Regions from separate parts of the Homo sapiens genome. Here all the other regions are linked to region 3. The links are contacts of gene promoters, found by promoter capture Hi-C in blood cells and fetal thymus (Javierre and others, 2016). All regions are on one chromosome and are shown on one strand. Each heading gives the region's core, a stretch centred on a gene start or on the middle of the fragment in contact. The rest is flanking DNA. Distances are from core to core; before and after follow the strand shown. Region 1 overlaps EXOC5 (exocyst complex component 5). Region 2 holds the start of GMFB (glia maturation factor beta). Region 3 holds the start of KTN1-AS1 (KTN1 antisense RNA 1). Region 4 holds the start of CDKN3 (cyclin dependent kinase inhibitor 3). Region 5 overlaps TMEM260 (transmembrane protein 260).

What was found. The method cuts DNA at HindIII sites, captures the fragments that hold promoters and counts their contacts. A CHiCAGO score of 5 or more calls a contact.
Region 1: a contact is called between a fragment that was not itself captured here and the fragment with the promoter of KTN1-AS1 in region 3, in 2 of 17 cell types (non-activated CD4 T cells and M1 macrophages). The highest score is 5.5, in non-activated CD4 T cells.
Region 2: the fragment with the promoter of GMFB here is called in contact with the fragment with the promoter of KTN1-AS1 in region 3 in 4 of 17 cell types (activated CD4 T cells, total CD8 T cells, naive CD4 T cells and 1 more); the score reaches 7.3 in activated CD4 T cells.
Region 4: a contact is called between the fragment with the promoter of CDKN3 here and the fragment with the promoter of KTN1-AS1 in region 3, in 1 of 17 cell types (total CD8 T cells). The highest score is 6.0, in total CD8 T cells.
Region 5: a contact is called between a fragment that was not itself captured here and the fragment with the promoter of KTN1-AS1 in region 3, in 7 of 17 cell types (fetal thymus, total B cells, naive B cells and 4 more). The highest score is 9.3, in fetal thymus.

Annotation. Positions count from the first base shown.
Region 1 is chr14:57,255,263-57,258,182 of GRCh38, forward strand. All of the region lies in intron 1 of EXOC5 (exocyst complex component 5), which reads right to left. Among named protein-coding and RNA genes, the nearest start is that of EXOC5, 12 kb to the right of the region's middle. The HindIII fragment of the contact is 5,789 bases long and covers 1-2,920 here.
Region 2 is chr14:54,487,467-54,490,425 of GRCh38, forward strand. It overlaps GMFB (glia maturation factor beta), which reads right to left and starts at 1,514. Exons shown (of 7, transcript NM_004124.3): 1 at 1,459-1,514. The coding sequence starts at 1,461. RefSeq lists a silencer at 1,197-1,596. The HindIII fragment of the contact is 2,730 bases long and covers 875-2,959 here.
Region 3 is chr14:55,578,775-55,581,755 of GRCh38, forward strand. It overlaps KTN1-AS1 (KTN1 antisense RNA 1), which reads right to left and starts at 1,318. Exons shown (of 3, transcript NR_027123.1): 1 at 1,162-1,318. KTN1 (kinectin 1) reads left to right here and starts at 1,433. Exons shown (of 44, transcript NM_001079521.2): 1 at 1,433-1,580. RefSeq lists enhancers at 658-777, 788-877 and silencers at 1,318-1,577, 1,638-2,277, 2,457-2,751. The HindIII fragment of the contact is 5,026 bases long and covers 1-2,981 here.
Region 4 is chr14:54,395,642-54,398,444 of GRCh38, forward strand. It overlaps CDKN3 (cyclin dependent kinase inhibitor 3), which reads left to right and starts at 1,366. Exons shown (of 8, transcript NM_005192.4): 1 at 1,366-1,436. The coding sequence starts at 1,428. The HindIII fragment of the contact is 7,211 bases long and covers 1,055-2,803 here.
Region 5 is chr14:56,580,144-56,582,869 of GRCh38, forward strand. The region is part of intron 1 of TMEM260 (transmembrane protein 260); the gene reads left to right. Among named protein-coding and RNA genes, the nearest start is that of TMEM260, 1.7 kb to the left of the region's middle. The HindIII fragment of the contact is 4,901 bases long and covers 1-2,726 here.

The DNA.
Region 1 (2,920 bases), core at 298-2,797, 1.7 Mb after region 3:
TAATCACATGGTTGGCAAGTTGACTACACTGGGCCCTTTCTACCCTAGAAAAAAGAATATTTTACTTTGATAGAAGTAGAAACATTTGAGATGGATTTGCCTTTCCTCAGAGGCAGTGTTTGTTCCTCTGGCACAGGACTCCACATACCATATCACACCAAAGGACCCAGGCACCCAGTTTACAGCAAAGGAGGTAACCATGGGATTCACTGGTCATATCATAAACCACACCAACCAGAGGTAGGCAGACTAACAGAGCACTGGAACACCCTGATGAAGGCACAGCTGAAGCACCAGTTCAGAGGGCATACTCTATTAAAATGATGCACTGATCGGGTGTGGTGGCTCAGGCCGGAGCTCAGGAGTTCGAGACCAGCCTGGGCAATACAGTGAAACCCTGTCTCTACTAAAATACAAAAAATTAGCTGGGTTGGTGGTGGGCACCTGTAGTCCTAGCTACTCGGGAAGCTGAGGTAGGAGAATTGCTTCAACCCAGGAGGGAGAAGTTGCAGTGAGCCAAGATCACACCACTGTACTCCAGCCTGGGCGACTGAGCAAGACTCCGTCTCCAAAAGCAAAAAAAAAAAAAAAAGGAAGCACTATTCTCCAAGATGCAGTATATATTCTGAATTAAAAGGCTTTATATGATGCTGTGACTCCCATAGGAAAAACACATGAGTCTGGCAACAAGAGGTAAAAGCAGAAAGTGGGTTCACTTATCATGACTCCCAGTTTGTGCTTGGGATCCCTGTAACTCTAGGTTCTTCCGGAATAGTCTTGGTGCCCAAAGAAGGAACACTTTTGCCTACGAACATAGTAAGAGTGTCATTAAACTATAACTACAAGTACTGCCTGGTCATATTGTCTCTTTATATCTAGGGAATAAGAAGAGGAGTGATCATCTTTGGCTAGGGCAATCAACCATAATGATCAGGATGAGGCAGGGCTGCTAATACACAATGGGGGCAGAGAGCAGTATGTTTGGCACACAGATGATCCTCTCAGGGATCTCTTAACACCCCCTCAACCAATTCTGAAAATGTATGGACAAGTGTTACAACCCTGGCCTAAAAAGGGTATTATAACCAGTTAAGATACCAAGAACATCAGAGGTACCAGTTGAAGGTAAGGCAGAGTTACAATCGATAGTAGAGGTGAGAGACAGTGAATATCAGTTGCAACTCCGAGACCAGCTATAGCAGTGGGGGCCACAGTTCATCTCACTAGCCTTCTTCTTCTAATTTTCCTCCAGGATGAGACCCAACCAGAATGTCAGAAGAGCTGCTCCCCAAATGTATATGAAGAAGTAAAGTCTAATAGTGGAACAAGGGTTGTCTGTGGTGAACACAATAATGTGCCATCCAGATTGCCCTTCAAGAAGGGACTTGCTCTAACTGCTAATAGTGCTGTCAACAAAAAGCCTTCATGGGCAGATTTTCAGGGACCTCATCAGATGCAAAGAGACACTTCACCCAATGTCATGTCTTTCCCAATGTGATCCATACCCAATGACTGATTAAGATGGGAGTATAAGGGCCAGACCACTTTGGTCCAAAGCAGGACAACTCTGACAGGTCATTTTAGTTTCAGACCTCCCCACAGAAGCCATCAACACTGCCACTGGACGAAAACTGTAACTCTACTTCTCCACATGCTCAATCTTGTATCCTTGCTCTGCCCCTCATAAATGTTCATCCAAGGTTACTTCCTAATAAATATTCTGCATACTAAACTGTCTCAAAGTCTGCTTCCCAAAAGACCCAACCTGCAACACCTTAGTAGTCCAGTCAAGAGATGGCAGTGACTCAGATGAAAGTGGCAGTGGATGAGGTGCTGAGAAATAGGTTCATGACGTCTTAAGGCATGCATTCATATAAGTTGCTGATAGACTGGATATGTGGAGAAAGAAAAAAAAGGAATAAAAGATTACTCATTGAGGTAGAGGTTTGCAGCCAGGACAACTTTGTGAATGGTGGTGCTAATTACTGAGATGGGAAGATCAGGGAAGGAGATGGATGAGGGAGCAGTGAAACAAGAGTTTTGTTCCACATATGTTAAAGTGTAGATGCCTATTAGATATGTAAGAGAAATATAGAGCACATAGATGGAAAAACAAATTTTTACTACACGGAAGAAGCTGGAGCTTCACAAAATTTGAATCATCAACATATAGATGGTTACTTAAGGACTGGTTGAGATCTACGAGGAAGAAAGGCATGCCAAGATTTGGAGATAAGAGCAGGAAAACAATCCAACAAAAGAAAGCAAGAGGCACCAGTGTAGGTGGAAGAAAATAAGAGGTCAGTGTCCTGAAAGCAAAGTACACATTTTATCCTCAGAGACAAATTATCACAAGGGTTTACGAGAAGTCAGCAATTGATCCCCAAGGGATGGAAGTTCCAAAAAAGCAAAAAATAAAAAATAAATAAATAAATAAAAATTTAAAAATTCTGCTTATATAAGCAAATAAATCCTAATGCCTTGCTTTCTAATACTTTATCTTGCTGCAAAGGCGCTTACAGTGACAAAAAGCCAAATTAACAAATCCTAAGACCTCCAAATGACCAAGTCCTCCCAAAAGACTTCTCAAACAATTCCCTGTAATACAAATACCTGTAAAAAAATTTTTAAATCCTTCAGAATTTTATAAGGCTGACAAAGGTTTAGCTTCACTTTGTTTTGCTATAGTAATCAAAAGCAAAAATTACCAAGCCAAAACAAAAATCTAGAACTATGCACTAAGATACTACCATATGAAATTTAGCTTTACATAATTGGTTGTTATATTGCTCCATTAAACTGATTTTATATGCTTTACAAATGTTACCAATTGTAACATTAAAATATGATGTTTGTCATTGTGAGAGACAGTGTGACGATTCCTCAAGGATCTAGAATCAGAAATACCATTTGACCCAGC
Region 2 (2,959 bases), core at 264-2,763, 1.1 Mb before region 3:
AGGCGGAGCTTGCAGTGAGCGGAGATCGCGCCACTGCACTCCAACCAACGCGACAGAGCGAGACTCCATCTCAAAACAAACAAACAAAAAAACAAAATTAGCCGGGCGTGGTGGCACATGCCTGTAATCCCAGCTACTTGGGAGGCTGAGGCAGGAGAACTGCTTGAACCTGGGAGGCGGAGGTTGCAATGGGCCGAGATCCCGCCATTGCACTCCAGCCTGGGCCACAAGAGTGAAACTCCGACTCAAAGAAAAAAAAGTACATACAGATCTGGATTGGATCTCAGAAGCAAGGTCTTCTGAGCTGTAAATTCACAAGTCATCTGAATATAGATGGTAACTGAAGCCATAGTTTAGGATGAAGAATACAGAATGGAAAATGAAGGATTAGGATGAAACCTGGGACTCCTTCGAGCATTGTCCAGGGAAAGGAGAATAGTCTGAAAGGGAAACAGATGGACCAATAGGAGAAGTAGGAGGAGCTCTGTATCCCAGAAGCCAAAGGGGAAGAATGAAGGAAGAGAATGCTTCAAAAACAAGAGAGTATAACACTCTGGAATGCAGCTAAAAGGTCAGAGAAGACGAAAACTGAAAAGAATCCATTCGATTCAGTGACCATGACAAGATCTATTCGATGAAAGTGGGCTGAGAATTGAGTGGATGGTCACAGAGAGCAGTGTTTTGTTGTTTCTAATGAAATTTACCCATATTTTAAAACCTAATGGGATGGATCCAAAAGATCCTTGATGGCGATTTATTTAATTTTCCACTTTATTTTTATGCTTGGGGTCCATCCCATGTAAGAACAGAAGCCACAGCCCCCAGAACCAACAAAACTAAAGTTATTGACAATTACTTTAAGGCCCAGTGCCAAAGCTTTGGGTCGAAAGGTTTCCAACTGCCATAGGAAAGCAAAGATAAGGAGAAATCCTCTGTAGGAAGCTAGGGAAAGGAGCAGAGAGAAAGAAGCTAAGGTGAGGCCGAGAGAATTCAATCGGAATTCGAGTCCTCCCCCAAAACGCCGCCAGGTGGAAGATGCTCGGGGCCCACCAACCCCTGGAACCTGGCCACGGCCCTGGCAGGGAAAGCAGGAATTGAGGGAGCCCTCCGATGGGGCAGACCCCTTTCCCTCCAACCTACAGCTCAGAAGCTGAAGCCCTCCAACCAGAAGGACCTGGCGTGGGGCCTCCCCAACCCCCCTGCTCGTGGCCGCACCCTAGTCCCATGGCCCGCTGGGCGGGTCCACCCCGGGCCCAGCTGGAAGATGCTGCCCTGAGGCGTGGTGGCGGCGGCAGAGGCCAAGTACTCTAGCTATGGGCACTGGCCAGCTGCTGGGAGCGGAAGCGGCCGCCGAGCCCTCCTGGGCGCTGCCCGCCGCCGCCGGCTCCGGAAACCGGGAAAACCCGGCTGGCCGGCTCGCCCAGCCCTCCGGCCCCCGCCCTCCCAGCGGCAACTCACCATTTTCCTTCCGGCCGTCAGCGGCCTGTCGCCTACACTCGGGCGCCTTTAAGAATGGCACGGCGGCCGCCTCCCTTCCTGCCCCGGCGCCTGGCCCAGTCGCCCCCACCTATCAACGCGGCCTCAGCGGGCCGGCACGTGATGGCGGACGGCAAAAGGCGCGGCTCAAAATTAGACAGAATGCGATCGCCTGATTTTTTTTTTTTTTTTTTTTTTTTTTTTTTTCTTTTCCCTGCTCCCTCTAGAGGAGGACGCTCTGCCTGGCTGCAAGTGAGAAACAAACCCAAGGTGCATACTTAAAAGTCATGCCAGTTCTCCGGACCTTTTTCGCAGTCTTCAAGCTCTGAGAGCATGTTAATGGTGACATCAATGTTTTCAATGGTAAATGTGTGTACTGACCGCAGCCTACCTTCCAAATTTGATCTCCCTCAAATCTAGGCACACCTCCTTTCCTCCCACCCTCTCCAGAACCCCACTTCTGACCACGGCTGCCTTCCAGGACTTGGTTAATCAATCTCTCTCTCTCTCTCTCTCTCTTTCTCTCTCTCTCCCTCCCCCTTTCCCTCTCTCTCTTACACACATTTCTTCTCTCTCACACACACACACATTTCTTCTCTCTTCTCTCACACACACACATTTCTTCTCTCTCTCTCTCGTCTCGCTCTGTTGCCCAGGCTGGAATGCAGTAGCACGATTATAGCTCACAGCAGCCTCAAACTCCTGGGTTCAAGCAATCCTCCTACCTCAGCCTCCCCAGTAGCTGGGACTACAGCCGTGTGCCACCACACACCCGGCTAATTTTTAAATTTTTTTGTAGAGATAGAGTCTCCCTATATTGCCCAAGCTGGTCTTGAACTCCTGGCCACAAACAGTCTTCCTGTGTGCCTCCCAAAGCGCTGGGATCACAGGCGTCAGCCACCATGCCCAGCCTCTTTTCTCCATACAAGTTATTTATTGAAGTATGAATGAATGATGATTGGTGTTTCAATGAGCACTCTTATGGGCCACTGCCTAAGTAAACATCAAGAAGTCTCTGTACCAGATGCAGACTTAGTGGAACAAGTCCAGTTTTGAATGCATGAAGAAAGTGGTTTGGGAGAAGTAAAGTTTAGGCTCTAGGATTCAACAGGTACCTTCAATAAAACAAACTGCCTGGGGCAGTACCTCATTTTGTTATGACCATGGGTTCTTGGTCTCTCAATGCAAATTGACCTGAGGCCAAAAGAGTTTCTCCAGGCAAGGCTTCATTGGAGCTTATGCCGGAGCATAAGGGAGGCAGCATAAGAGAATGAGAGAATTCCCTGACTGACTCTCCTAAAAGAGCACAACAAATTAGGGGTAGTTTATGCAGGTCAGCATTATCTGTTTGCCAGGGTTGTCTTGAGTAATGGGCCACCCAATGGTCTGGTTTGCGGCAACAAGGCTGTGAATCAATTGTTCAACATTCCTCTCCAAGGTGGGACACTCTCAACCTTGGTTATCTCCTAAGGCCAGTCATTGG
Region 3 (2,981 bases), core at 68-2,567:
AAATAAGACAATGCATCTGTGGAGAACACGGTGACTGAAGACTGGCAGAATTCTCAATATCTCAGGCCACTATACACTGCGCAGTTTTCATTTGTATTTTGGAGGTGCTCTAGAAAACTTAGAAATGATTAGAATAAAAAGTATGGATACTTTTAACCAGCCCATGTACAGGAAATTCTGTTGGTGTAGAAACGGTTCTGCTGTTCATTCCTTAACTGCTTCTGTTCCCACTTTGTCAGATGTAGGGCGAGGTGGTGGTGGTGAGTCCTAATTTTTTCTATCTCTATCCACAGTCTGGAATCGTTAGGATTATTTTAAGCCTTCATAACATTTGCGGACAGCTTGGAGTGTTTTGTACATGTAGTGGGGCAGTGCCTGGCCTCCTGTGAGAGATTGATCATCGGTAAACAATCCACACGAAACTCACTTGCCAGTGGACGGGGAGGATCGCTGCCATCCTTTCAGCAAAGAGCAAACGAATAAGGAGAGATCCGGGCCCATCCCTCCTCGCGCAGCAGTTTCTAGATTTTTACCCCGGCTTCATAAATGGCTACCAGCTGGCAGTCACAACACTTTCATAATGTTTGCACACAACTCATTTGGGTCGCTTTCTTTTCTTTCCTTTTTTTTTTTTTTTTTTTGAGAGAAACGGAGAGTCTTACTCTCTCGCCCAGGCTGGAGTGCAGTGGCGAGATCTCGGCTCACTGCAACCTCCGCCTCCTAGATTCCTGCGATTCTCCTGTCTCAGCTTCCCAAGTAGCTGGGGCTACAGGCGTGCGCCACTATGCCCAGCTAATTTTTTGTACTTTTTTTGGCAGAGACGGGTTTTACTATATGTTGGCCAGGCTGGTCTCGAACTCCTGACCTCAGGTGATCCGCCTGCCTTGGCCTCCCAAAGTACTGGGGTTACAGGCGTGAACCACCGCGCCCGACCATTATTTGGGTCGCTTTCTAATTTCTTTCTCCGTTTGTAGCTAGCGTTGCCCGAAGGAGATTTCAGAGAGATCCCCTGGAGAAAGGGACGGGGGATGTCGTTTTCCAGTAATTTCTGGGGGAAATCTGGGATAGTCAGGGGGTAAATCTAGTGCCGTTTGCTGAAGTTAAAAGGCGTGGGGAGCCAGGTGGTGCCCTGGAGGGAGGGCCGCGCGAGACGAGACCAACCTTCGGGACAGGGGAGAGCGGGGCTACTGAACGCAGGGGATTCCGCTGAGCCTCCAGCCCCTGAGCGTCCACCTTCGGCCCAGCTGGGGGACGCGGTCTCGGGAAGAAAGCCCGGAATCCCGAGCCGGCCAGCCGCGAGCAGCGAGTACCGGAGCGCGTGGGCAGGCGCGCGGAGGCAGAGGCGGGCCGGCGGCTGTCCCTTTAAGGGGCCGGTCTCCCGGCGCCGCCGGCCCAGACGCCAGGACGTGCCGGGTCCGCCCCGCCCCGCCCCGAAGCCGCCCGTTTCCTGCCGAGCGGCGCGACGGCACCTGAGCGACTGCGGCGGCGGCGGCGGCGGCGGCGGCGCCTCGGAGCGGGCGGCCCGGGCTGTAGTGCCGGCGCCGCCGCGTCTTCCCGGTCTCCTTTCCCGGCCGCACAGGGTGAGGGAGAGCAGGCCGCACCGGGACGGGCGCCGGCGGCGGGGAGCGCGGGGGGAGGCGGCGCCGGCCGCGGGGTCCTGGGGCAGGCGGGAGGGCCGCGCCGGGCGGGGGGGCGCGGCCGCGGGGCCCGGACGCCGCCCGCTGGGTAGGCCTCGGGCATCCGGTTGCCGCCGCGGGGCTCTTGTTGGGGCCGGGACGCCGCAGGGGGCGGGCTCGGAGGGACCTCCTCGGCCTCGCGGGGCCGCTCTGGGCCCGACCCCGGCTCTGTCGCGGCACCCGGGGCGCGGCCGAGGGACACCCCCCACCCTCCCCAAGGACGACTCTCCCGAAGGCGAGGTCGACCCGAGCGGGCCCTGGGGTGACCGAGGCACCTATTTTTAGCCAAGCCTGAGGGCCCCCGGGAGGGAAGGCGGATTACCGCCTCCTCGGCCGGTGGACGGAGGCAGCGCGTCTCCGGCGGCGTCCCCGGGCCGGAGCTGGGCCACACTTACGCCATGCTGGAGTTCCAGTCCTCGCCGCTGCCTCCGGCGGTCTGGGCGCTCGCCCCCTTCCCCGGCGCCCCTCCCGCTGCCCTTTGCGAGTCCCCAGGTCAGGGCGGGAGGCGGTTGGGCACGGAAAGCAGCATGAGGGGGGACTTTGGAAAAATCCATGGACCACTCTCGACACCGGCGAAGTTATCCCTTCCTGTCCCCGAGGGGTGTGTCCTAGCGATTCGGCCTGACCCCTTCAGTTTCCAAAAGTGAGATTTTTGGCCTTGGGGACCTCGCCGGAAAACTACGCGGGAAGTCTAGAGAAGTCGTCTGGCTCTCAGCCATACGTCTGGTGTGGGATGTGCAGCCCCGCATGCTGGCGGTGAAGGCGCTGGGTGCACTAGATGTGGGCAGCCCCGGACGCGGGCAGCGGCGTCCCAGCCGGCCCCAGTTGCACCTTGACTAGGTTAGGTTGAAAGTAAGCTGTTCAGTGTTGGCCCTTCTTTCCTGTGGGAGGAAGGAGGAATCTAAATTCAGAACTGTGTTGGCAAACGGATTCCTTAGCCGCTATTTAAGTTAGTAGTGCTTAAAGAGCTACGGTTGAAGTTAACTGTTAAGGTGTGTGTGTGTGTGTGAGTGTGTGTGTGTGATGACTTTGTGGAAAGCCTTGAGTAAAGAGCTACGGTTGAAGTTAACTGTTAAGGTGTGTGTGTGTGTGATGACTTTGTGGAAAGCCTTGAGAAATGTAGACACTCATGGCCAGCCCAGCTAAAGATAAGCATCTTCGGTGAACTAAAGGTTCTGAATTGTATAGGAGTTGACTTAAAGTTAGAATTTTTGCTAAATTAGGTTGCATTTGTTTTCCTTAGCTTACCTAGCAGGCTAATGGCAACAGTGTCTCCAGTTTGGTCCGAAGCAATTGCTGGTGAGA
Region 4 (2,803 bases), core at 116-2,615, 1.2 Mb before region 3:
CCCCCCATCAGATTTTGGACTCTCCAAGCTTCCACAAGCACAGGAGCCAATTCCTTAAAATAAATCTGTTTCTATATCCATATATACACATCCTATTCATTCTTTATCTCTGGGCAACCATGACTAGCTAATACAGTCTCTAAATCAAACTGTGGTACCTTCTTTACTAAGGAATTCCTTCTAATAGCTCTATACCCATTGGCTTTCACAACATGAATCAGGGGTTGAAATTTCTGCATATTTTTCTCAGATCTGCTCCAGGCGACTTCCTTTCCCATGGCTAGTTAAATGGGGACTGGAGAAGGCGGAGAAATACTCACATTTTTAAAAGATTACAGCTAATTATGTAGACACACTGGCCCTTAGACCTATCTTACCTGGCATTTTATAATTTCCCTTTCACACAATATAATTTAATTCATATTTGGGGGACAGGAATATTGATCTACACTGTAACTTGTCTAGTTTCTGGAACGATAAACTAAAACTTCAAGCATATAAAATATGTTTATACTCTAAATTTTTAGTTTTTTCCCTAGTATTTGTATGTCTAGATATAATTACAAAGTCTATGTGATGTTTTTCATGTGACGATCCAATACAGTGCTTCCCTGAGCCCTTAAAAAATAAAAAATAAAAATACAACTTAAAGAAACAAAAACTCCCTACCGTAGCCGCTACAAGGGAGGCTAAGGCGGGAGGATTGCTTGAGGACAGGAGTTCGAGGCCAGCCTGGGCAACATAGTAAGACTTCCGTCACAAACACAAAAACTCCCAACCCGGGTTCGAGACCAGCCTGACCAACATGGAGAAACCCCGTCTCTACAAAAAATACAAAAATTAGTCAGGCTTGGTGGCACATCCTTGTAATCCCAGCTACTCGGGAGGGTGAGGCGGAGACTCGCTTGAATCCGGGAGGCGGAGGTGGCGGTGAGCCGAGATCGCGCCATTGCACTCCAGCCTGGGCAACAAGAGCGAACTCCGTCTCAAGAAAAAAAAAAAAATCACCTCCCAACCGTATGGACCACGCTGACATCCTGCCATCAAGAAGCAAAGCTTTCCAGCGTCCCCCAAGCGCTAGGGCCGCCTTCTGACTCTTCCGCCCCGCCTCCGCCCCCTGCACTCTCCCAACTGGCGGGAGGAGGGCGCCCTCCCAGCCAATCAACGTCCCACAGGGCCCGCCTCCCGCGCGTCTTTCAAAGGTCTTCTAGGAACCAGTCAGCGATTAGAGGCCGAGTCTTCGGCCACCCAAAGGCGGAGTAAGAAACCAGAAGCGGATCTGATTGGTTGCTGGAAGACGCCGCGCCCACCTCACAGAAGGACGAACCAGTGAGCTAAGCTGCGGGGCGCGGGCTCGGCCGGGGCACCGGTGAGTCGCCGGCGCTGCAGAGGGAGGCGGCACTGGTCTCGACGTGGGGCGGCCAGCGATGAAGCCGGTGAGTCGGACGTGCTGGGGTTTGGAGGAGCGAGGCGGCAGGGACGCAAGCGGTCCCGGGGACCCGATCCTGGGCCGGAGGGCAGCCCTAGCCTGGTAGCAGTGCGACTGGCGCCGTAACCGTTCTGCGGGTCGGGGAGGTGACTCGCACGGGCCCAGCACGGGCACGAGAGACGAAGGAGCAGGGTCGGTGGCCGACGAAGGAAAGACGGACATTCGCTGTGCACCTGCTGTGGGCTGTCACCTGTCCCCTGCGGGGTCTCATAAGCCTCCCAGCCGCCCAGCCAAAGAGGGCCGAGCCTCGTTGTACCGAGGAAACCGAGCCGAAGAGCTTGAGTGTCAGCGATGAGTGGGCGCGATACCCCAGCCCCGAAGGGTGGCCGGGCGCTACCTGCGCCCACAGGGCCTGGGGAAACCTTGAGTACGAATGCCACGCCGCGGCTTGTGGGCGACACCACCGCTGTCACCATGCCCCAGGGCCACCTGGCAATGCTGCTCTTTTCCCGTGACGTTCAGAATCACAGGGCCTGGGGAAGCAGAAACGTCCAGCTCTGTTAGGATTAATAAACCTGGTGAATGGGCCACACAAATTTGAAATATGAATCATCAAAGTTGCTTTAAAGAAAAAACAGATGCAGGCAAGGAGCTGAAGATCCCCCACCTAACCCATATTTCCTACTGCCCGGCTTGACAACCTACTGGAAGCCTTTCCTTTGGGTGCAGTTGATTATAATACTTCAGATAGAGCCAAAGCAACAGAAATCCATAGCCTAGGGCCGGGTGGTGTCTCGCGCCTGTAATCCCAACACTTTGGGAGGCCAAGGCGGGCGGATCACTTGAGGCCAGGAGTTGGAGACAAGCCTAGCCAACACGGTGAAACCCCGTCTCTACTAAAAATACAAACATTAGCTGAGCGTGGTAGTGCACGCCTGTAGTCCCAGCTACTCGGGAGGCTGAGCCACGCAAATAGCTTGAACCCAAGAGGCAGAGGTTGCAGTGAGCGGATATCACGCCACTGCCCTCCAGCCTGGGCGACAGAGCAAAACCCTATCTCAAGATAAAAGAAAGAAAGAAAAAAAAGTCCGTAGCCTAAATTAGCCGTCCTGTGATCTTCTAGTACCAAGACCGTTGTAGAATATAGCTTCAGAGCTAGAAAGAGCATTAGGTGCTTACAATTGCTAATCCCTATGTTGCCATGTGGAGGGACATCAGCTGTCCTTCACTCCTGGCCTCTTTCTCCACCTGTCCCCATTGAGTTATCTGATCCCCGAGTTTGGAAGGAACTGAACACCAGTATCTCAACTTTTTCTTTCCTTCTTTCTTGGGATCTACCTGCCTGCCTGCAGAAGGTGCTTTCTGGTCCACTCT
Region 5 (2,726 bases), core at 54-2,553, 1.0 Mb after region 3:
GGCCCCTGCTCTTGGCATTCGGTCTGGTCAGCTCTGGGCCTCCATCCACCCCCCTGTGCACAGCGCACTATTGTGTGTTCCAGAGCCCACTTCTGTTTCCATTCCTGTCGTTGTGGTTTCTTTAGTTCTCAGGTTTTCGAGATGGGGCGTATTGTTGGTTTCGCCTGGTGGGGCTTATCGACCTCTCCACTTCCCCAGATCTTTTATCCTGGTCCTGAGTATTTACTTTCAGTCTTTTTTAGTCCACAGATATTATTCACGGTGTCCTTATTATGTTTCAAACAAAAGAACAGTAGTGGCGAACAGATAATTGCTAGTGTTCCAGTGCGGTTAGACAATACACAAGTTAATGAATAAACAGCATATTCACTGGTGATAAGTTATGGAGACAGTAGGAGGGAAATATGATTGAGAGTGGGGGTAAGTAGTGGGTCCTTCCGAATGACTATTCAGGAAAGACCTCTGAAGAGGTGGTGTTTTAGTTGAAACCTGAATATTGAGAAGGAACTAGCCATGCAGAATATTTGCAGGAGAACTCTTAAAAAGGTGGAAGCCAGGTGCGGCTGTTTCTATGAAAAAGAAAAGCATGACTCATTGGCCCTTAAATCACACTAATTGTTTTGTATTTGATGCAAGAAACAAGATCCATGTTTTGTTTTTGGATTCAATAATGCCATATCATGGCCAGTAATTTTGTCAGAATAGTGCTGTAATTTCAGGTGGTGAACCTATGGACTGAAGAAGCAGTTTTTGCTGCATGACTAGTGATCCCCAAATTGAGCAGCTTAAACAGCAAACGTTTATCGTCTCCCGTTTTTGTAAATCAGGAGTCTGGGTGCCGTTTAAGCTAGATGCTCGTACTCAGAAAAAGGTTGCTGTCATGGTGTGCGATGGGGCTGCGGTCTTCTCAAGGCTCAATTTGGGGAGAAACGCAATCTAGTTCTTTGCTATGTGGGTCTCCATAAGTTAACTGACTTCTGTCAAGAAAAAGATGAAGGACACCTCTCTGTCTGACAGCTCTGTCATTTTGTAACCTAATACTGTAAGTGATATACCACTTCTGCATTTTATTCCTGGAACTTCGTCAGTAAACCCAACCCATATTCAAGGGGGAAGGATTACACAGGTGAGAATATCAGGACTTGGGGATTAGTGGGGATCATATTTAGGGCTGCCTACCACGTTGAAGATCTTTGATGTTACATCTTCAAATTGTTACCTTTCTTCTTTCAGGTCCTGTTGCACAAGTAGGGATAGTGTTTCATTCGTGTAGTAGGGAGTTTCTGTACAGTGTTACCAAGATTGGTATTTCATAATGGAAGTAACTTTATAGTTGTGAGTTTTGGTGCTGGAGAGCATTATTCAGAGGTTAGGTAGTTCTGTTACTTGTAAAAAAATAAAAAGATTGACAGCTACTTATGGTTGGTTGAGTGTGAAGGATGGGAGTGAGATTTATAATAACTGACGTTTGTTGGGCACTTACTATGTGCCAGGCACTGTTCCAAGTGCTTTATATGGGTTGTTGTTTTAACCCTCCCAGCTACCCTTAAAAGTAGGTGCAATTATTATTTTCCTTTTATAAATGGGAAAACTAAGGCTAAGCTATGCCCAAAGTCACACAAAGTAGAGAAATCAGGAAAAGAAAAGTATATTGACTTCAGAATATGCCCCCTTAACCTCTACTTTTCGTCAAAACATTTCATGAAATTCTTTTCTAAATCCACCATCACATATGTAGTGATGTTTAAAATTTATTTAAAATCATGATTATTGCCTTGCCTTTATTAATACTGTATTTTATTTTTTCCTAAAAGAATAAAGTTGTGTATTCACCTTGAGTTACCAAACTTTAGGTGCTTTAATTTTGTTTGGTTTGATGTTAAATAGTGGTTGCTTCTAATATTTTTATGTTCATTTTTGGGAATGATAAACTGTTTTCCAAGTATATGCCAATATGGAAAATTTGCTTTATCGTATATTTGATAATTGTGTTTACATGTTGAATGCACTATTCTTGAATGTTTATGAATTATATTTTCATCAATAAACAGAACACATCTCAAAACCAGTATAAAGCATGTATTCTTCTTCCTGATAAGTCTTACATTTTACTCCATAGATTCATCACATTGTGTCGTCTTGCCAAAATTATTTTTTGTACCACTTGACACACACAGTTCATTTATGGGCAGGGTGCTTGTGGTGCTTTTCGGGGAGGGGGTAGGAATCTGGCCTTCACTAAATTAGTTTGTACGTGAGTTTATTTCAAAGATACTGTCTTTAACAGATGTGATGTGTGACAGTCTAGTCTAATTAATATTGAGAAGTATGATATAAAGGGAGCTGGTTTTTGTAAAGGTTAAGCATCTGCTGACAACTCTGGGCTTGCCATTAGTTTGTATTGCAGACAACAAAGCCGTGGTTCTCAGACAGGAACGTACTTCAGAATTACCTGGGAAACTTGAGCCCCCAGTGCAAGTGGGTCTTAGTAGATTATGGAATTTGGAGGTGTGGGCAAGGAATCTTCATTTTTAAAAAGCAGGTTAATTCTGATGCAGGTAGACACAACTGAGGAACCTTTCATGTAAAGGGTTGGGAGAAAGCCAAGACTCGGGAAGCTCGAGGTTTTTTTACTATTCCCTTCCTCTTTATCACAATCAATTTAAGAGTAGTATTTCCCTTTAGATCTTTATCAAGGTTACATTTAGAGACGTTGAATGGGGACA